Regions from separate parts of the Homo sapiens genome. Here region 2 is linked to region 1. The links are contacts of gene promoters, found by promoter capture Hi-C in human tissues and cell types (Jung and others, 2019). All regions are on one chromosome and are shown on one strand. Each heading gives the region's core, a stretch centred on a gene start or on the middle of the fragment in contact. The rest is flanking DNA. Distances are from core to core; before and after follow the strand shown. Region 1 holds the start of PPP1CC (protein phosphatase 1 catalytic subunit gamma). Region 2 overlaps FAM216A (family with sequence similarity 216 member A).

Region 1 (2,700 bases), core at 39-2,538:
TCGATAGGCTGAGTTCTGAAACTCAAGGGCCCTGCACCAGTAGCGAGGGGGCCCAAGTAAGGGGACATGGAGCCCGCACCCTGAGGACATTGCTTTGGAAGAGGATGCCTGGGTGGTGCAATTACCTCGTGGCATACTGAGATGGGGATTCGTGCATCCTGCACGCCTTGGGAAACAAAATGAATTTCTCGGAGAGAGGGGGCTTTGCAAAATGTAAAGCGCTGCAGGAAGCAACGTACATGGAAAGGTCAGGAAAGAGAGCCGATCTGTTTGCTGAGTGTGGGCTGTACTTCCAAACCCAGCCAAAGTCGACGCGCAGCCCCTGGAGGTGGCACAGTTTGGGGGCCCCTTGGATAGGAGTGCCCTCGGGGAGGCTGGGAAGCCAGAGAGGAATGGGCCAAAGTTTCTTCGGGTGTCTGCAGAACCCAGGACCGCCCGCGCAGCTTGCATCTTCTCTTCCCGCCCCCGGCCTGCACGCGTGAAATCTGCAAATTCCCCTTTTAACTGCTGCACGCGCTCGTTCAACTTTGCCCTGGCTAGAATCGGGATAACCGTCCCGATGATTACATAACTTTCCGAGTTCAGGGAAGATAAATCCAAGGGACAGAAATGATAAAATTTTCTTTGAGTATGGATTTTTTACCCCTAAAGTTACAGAAGTGCACAAAAAATATATATACAAATACCCATATACCCACCACTCACAATGAGTTAACTGTTACATTTTGACTTATCTGAAAGAGGGTTTTTTCTTTTTAGTTACCAAATAAACCTTTCTCTTGTCCCAAGTTCCAGTATATCTGAATCCAAAATAAGTCAACCTTCTTTTCTTTATTATTCTTTTCCATCCTCACCCCAGATTTATCTTAAAGGGTAAGTTCCAGGACCCCCGAAATCCCTCGGTGAGCTCCCACCTGTCCAGGTCTGCAAACATCTAGACTCAATGCACAAGATCCGGCGATGGCCGCAACCGGCGGTGTGCACAGCTGCATTTCCTCCCCCAGCCCCAACTCCCGCGTGCAACTTTGCAACTCTCGCTCGGGCCCGGCATTGGGGGCGGGCCTATTTACTCGGCCCGTTTGGCGGAAGGATCCCATGCGGGGACGCGGTTGCGCTCAGCCATCTGCGCCCCGCCCAGCGCCCGGGCCCCGCCCCCTCCAGCGCCCGGGCCCCGCCCCCTCCCGCGCCCCCTATGGCCCATAAAGAAGTCCCGGCCGGGCCGCTGCACTCCCCGCGCGCATCCGTGCGCCGCCCGAGGCTGTCTAAGGAGTCGGCGGCCATTTTGTTCTTCTCGTGGTTCCAGTGGGGAGAGAAGGAGGAAGTAGGGAGCGGGGTGGCAGGGGGGGGACCCGCCGCGGCTGCTGCCACCGCCGCCACCACCGCCTCTGCTCGTGGCGTGGGAAAGGAGGTGTGAGTCCCGGGCGCGAGCCGGCGGCGGCGCCGCTGCGGGAGGGTCGGCGGTGGGAAGGCGATGGCGGATTTAGATAAACTCAACATCGACAGCATTATCCAACGGCTGCTGGAAGGTAAGGGGGGCGGCGGGCGGCTGAAGGGGGAGGCGGGCCTGAGGGCGGCAGGCGGCCCCGGGGGCTCGAGGGAGGGGAGTTGGGAGGCCGGTTGGGCTTGCAGCACCGTGGGGAGTGAGCTCCTCGAGTTGGCCCACGGGCCGGGGACTGCAGCCGGAGGGAGGCCAGCCCGGGATTCCCAACTTGTCGCCAGCTGCGGACCCTCCAGGCTCCGCTCATTCATTGCACGAGGATGCAGGCTTCCTCCCGGCCGTGGAATTTGAAAACTCCGCTCCCCACCCCCACGTTTCCCGCCCCTACCCGTTTGCCCCCGCGCACTGGACGGGTCTTTGGAGCGATGGTTGGGGATCCCAGTCCAGCCTCCTGGACGACGTGTGCCGTGCTGTGCGAGATGGACTTTTCGGTGCTCGTCCTCTCGGAAGGCAGTTTGATGAGGGCATGAGTTCCGCCGGGTTTGGGGGCTCTTTTCCTGCTTGCTTTTATTTTTATTTTTCGTGGTTCTGGGGTCTTGGGGGGCCCATTTCTTGTTACTTGGTAACAAGCGTTCATGTCTCAAGAGGTGTGAGAACCTGTCTTCGCCTGCCCTCCAAATCCTTTTAAGTTGTTCTAATCTTGGAGAGGTCTCCGCGCTCTTTTCCTGAGCGTGCATCTGAAGAGGAAGCCAACGAGGCTGACGCTATCATTATCTTTCCAATGTGCCAGGCTCTGTCTTAAGCACTTTGCGTCCATGAATTATTACTGTAATCATAACTGACGCTTCTAAAGCGCTTACTGTGTGTCAGGCATTCTTTGAGCACTTAAGACAGATTTCATTTAATTCTCCCACCCATTGCAAGATATTTGCAATTTTTTTTGTTTTTGTTATTTTACAGAAGAAACTGAGATGAAGTCACTTAACCAAGGTCACACAGTTAGTGACAGTTGGATTTCAAATCCACATAGCCGGGAGCTAGAACCCTCTACAGACAACACTGTCACCTTATGTAGGAAGGAAGGTGGCCAGTGGTTAAGTAAAGGTTAATAGAAAGCTTTAAATTTCGGCTCATCTAAGACTTGTGAGGTGCCTGGCAATTGATTCATGTTGATGTGGGAGAGGGGCGAGGTTCAGCTTTTAAAGACGGAAGCTGAAATGAGCTGCTTTCAGATTCAAGGGCATGTCAACGGATGCTAACAT
Region 2 (2,700 bases), core at 70-2,569, 260 kb after region 1:
AAAGTATTTGCATTATTTTGAGGTTGAGTGGGAATTATATTGAAAAGGGCAGTCATCCATAACTCTATCTGATAAAGAAATTTTTATAATTCCACAAAATATATTCTAAAAGAAGTGGCATATTCTTATCAGTGCAGTAAAGAAAAAGTATGAAAATATCTCTCGGCTAGGCATGGTGGCTCATGCCTGTAATCCCAGCACTTTGGGAGGCCAAGGCGGGCAGATCATCTGAGGTTGGGGGTTCAAGACCAGCCTGACCAACATGGAGAAACCCCGTCTCTATTAAAAATACAAAATTAGCCGGGCATGGTGGCGCATGCCCGTAATCTCAGCTACTCAGGAAGGCTGAGGCAGGAGAATCGCTTGAACCCGGGAAGTGGAGGTTGCGGTGAGCCGAGATCGCGCCAGTGCACTTTAGCCTGGGCAACAAGAGCGAAACTCGGTCTCAAAAAAAAAAAAAGTATCTCTGCTTTTTAAAAGTCCAGCCTATTCTGAATTTAGCAAAGTGAATATATTAGGGAACACAACCATTAATATCACTTAGCTACCCTTCAAAAGAGATGGGGAAGGCTGGGCACAGTAGCTCACGCCTGTAATCCCAGTGCTTTGGGAGGCGGAGGTGAGAGTACCTTGGCCAACATAGTGAGATGCTTTCTGTACAAACAATTTTTTTTAACTAGCAGGGCATGGTGGTTTGTGCCTTTAGCCCTAGCTACTTGGGAGTCTGAGGCAGGAGCATTGCTTGAGCCCAGGAGTTTGAGAATACAGTAAACTGTATCACACCACTACACTCCAGCCTGGGTGAGAGAACAAAACCCTGTCTGAGAAAAAAAAAAATTAAACTGAGATGCATTTCCCCCCTTTTACACTAAGAAACAGACCCTTCTTTGTTTCTCACTGGCCGCCAAAGGGAATGCTGTATGAGCATTTCAGGTGCAGATGCAGCTGCGATATCAGAAGACCCCGAGTCCTCTCTCTCCAGTTGATGTCGCCATGTAGTGCAAGGGTAATGCTGTTTCTGTGAGTAACGGGAGCTAAGGCGGCTTCTGTGATGAGTGAGGACACCTGTGATACAAATCACCTGTTAAAAGACCCTCTCACTAATTGTAAAAACTAGTGAAAAGACAACTGGAGGTGCACCTGCCTGGCTTTTGTGAGCTGTGCTGAAGTACGTGCATGTACTGCCTCTTCATTAACATCTTCAGATAGTTTGCATTATAGATTTTAGCAATGCTGCACAGGTAACGCTTCTGGCCTGTGGTGAGGTCTGGATGCTAAAAGACAGAATAAGAGGATTTATAGTCTGCATTGTATTAGAGAAGTTGGCAATATTCCTTATCTGAAGAGATGAATGTTCAAGAGAGTTGTGCCAACTGTATTTTACTTTAGCAAATTCAACTACGTTAACTTGACAAAAGAGAAAGAAATGGCCAATTAAACAGTGCAAGTGGCTCTGCTTGCCATTCCACTCGGGTGATTCAGATGCCCTTTGAAGTCGGAGAACCCATTGCTCTAGATGAACAAGGAAAGAGCGAATCTGCTGTTCTGTCAAGTGTTACTTGCTGTGCGCCTCTCAGTGTGGGCATCTTGCCTTCTCAAAATGATTTTTGAGGTATAACATGGTACCTAAAATCAATCCAATTACTCTACTTAGTCTCAACTGAAGAAACATTCTTTTCCAGCACCAGAAGAATAACTGACTGTGTTGGACATTCTGAGGGATAGTATGTTAGTCTCTAAGTAATTTTGACTTGAGATTTTCATTGCACTTGCTGATTTAGAAGTTAATGTTCACTTAAGATGTATGATTCCACTATATATACAAGATTTACTTTACTGAATACATGGTAAGTTCAAAGAAAATGCAAAATGTTAGAAAAATTTACCCTAATTCACATTGCTCTAGAGATACTTTTAGCAGTTACGATCGTTAATGGGATACAGGTAACCATTGTAAAATCCTTATTGCCATTTTCTTTTATTTATTTTTCTTTTTTTAAATCCTACTTGCAAGCTAATTACTGCCATTTTCTTTACCTGCTTTCTTCTTAATTTTGTAGTCCTTGAGTAAAATATGTGTGAAGTTGGGTTTCTATTTTCAAGAAAAGATGGAACTTTTCTTGAGCATCTCTGTGGTTGGGGCATTAAGCTTCCCCTCAGTAAAGATACATTAGATATGAAGTATCATAAAACCATGAAATAACTCTTATGATAAAGAATGTATAATCTTTACATTCATTCATGAGTTTACTCAAAGATATTTATTGACTCCTAGACAATTATACTGCATATGCCTTGTCATCTGCAGTATCTCACCCTCTAAGCAGCTGATCTTCAGTAAAAAGTTCGGCTCTGAATACAAAGAGTATTGGTATTTAAATATGTCCCTGTTAGCATACCTTGAAAAAGGACGCCTCCATCATTGATTTAGAGAGGTGGATTGTTTGATTTTGGGGAGTTTTCCATAACTCTTGCAGCTTAGCTATGTGTGAGTTCACTTTGTATCCATCTTTGATTCTATCTGTAGGCAAAGACATCATGTGAATTTCAGAGGCAAAGATCAGTTCAACAAACTGAATTATTAAGATCTAGATATTTAGGCCGGGTGTGGTGGCTCACGCCTGTAATCCCAGCACTTTGGGAGGCCGAGGTGGGTGGATCACGAGGTCAGGAGATCGAGACCATCCTGGCTAACACGGT

Evidence for each region. The method cuts DNA at HindIII sites, captures the fragments that hold promoters and counts their contacts. A contact is called where the count stands out against the background at its distance.
Region 2: a fragment that was not itself captured here is called in contact with the fragment with the promoter of PPP1CC in region 1 in 1 of the 25 tissues and cell types used here (small bowel).

What each region holds. Positions count from the first base shown.
Region 1 is chr12:110,741,479-110,744,178 of GRCh38, reverse strand. PPP1CC (protein phosphatase 1 catalytic subunit gamma) reads left to right here and starts at 1,288. Exons shown (of 7, transcript NM_002710.4): 1 at 1,288-1,526. The coding sequence starts at 1,472. RefSeq lists enhancers at 1-293, 1,055-1,563 and silencers at 1,058-1,197, 1,358-1,417. The HindIII fragment of the contact is 6,938 bases long and covers 1-2,700 here.
Region 2 is chr12:110,484,899-110,487,598 of GRCh38, reverse strand. FAM216A (family with sequence similarity 216 member A) reads right to left here. Exons shown (of 7, transcript NM_013300.3): 3 at 2,400-2,521; 4 at 1,145-1,274; 5 at 882-1,065. All of the region lies in intron 1 of LOC124903016 (a long non-coding RNA gene), which reads left to right. Among named protein-coding and RNA genes, the nearest start is that of VPS29, 16 kb to the left of the region's middle. The HindIII fragment of the contact is 3,710 bases long and covers 1-2,700 here.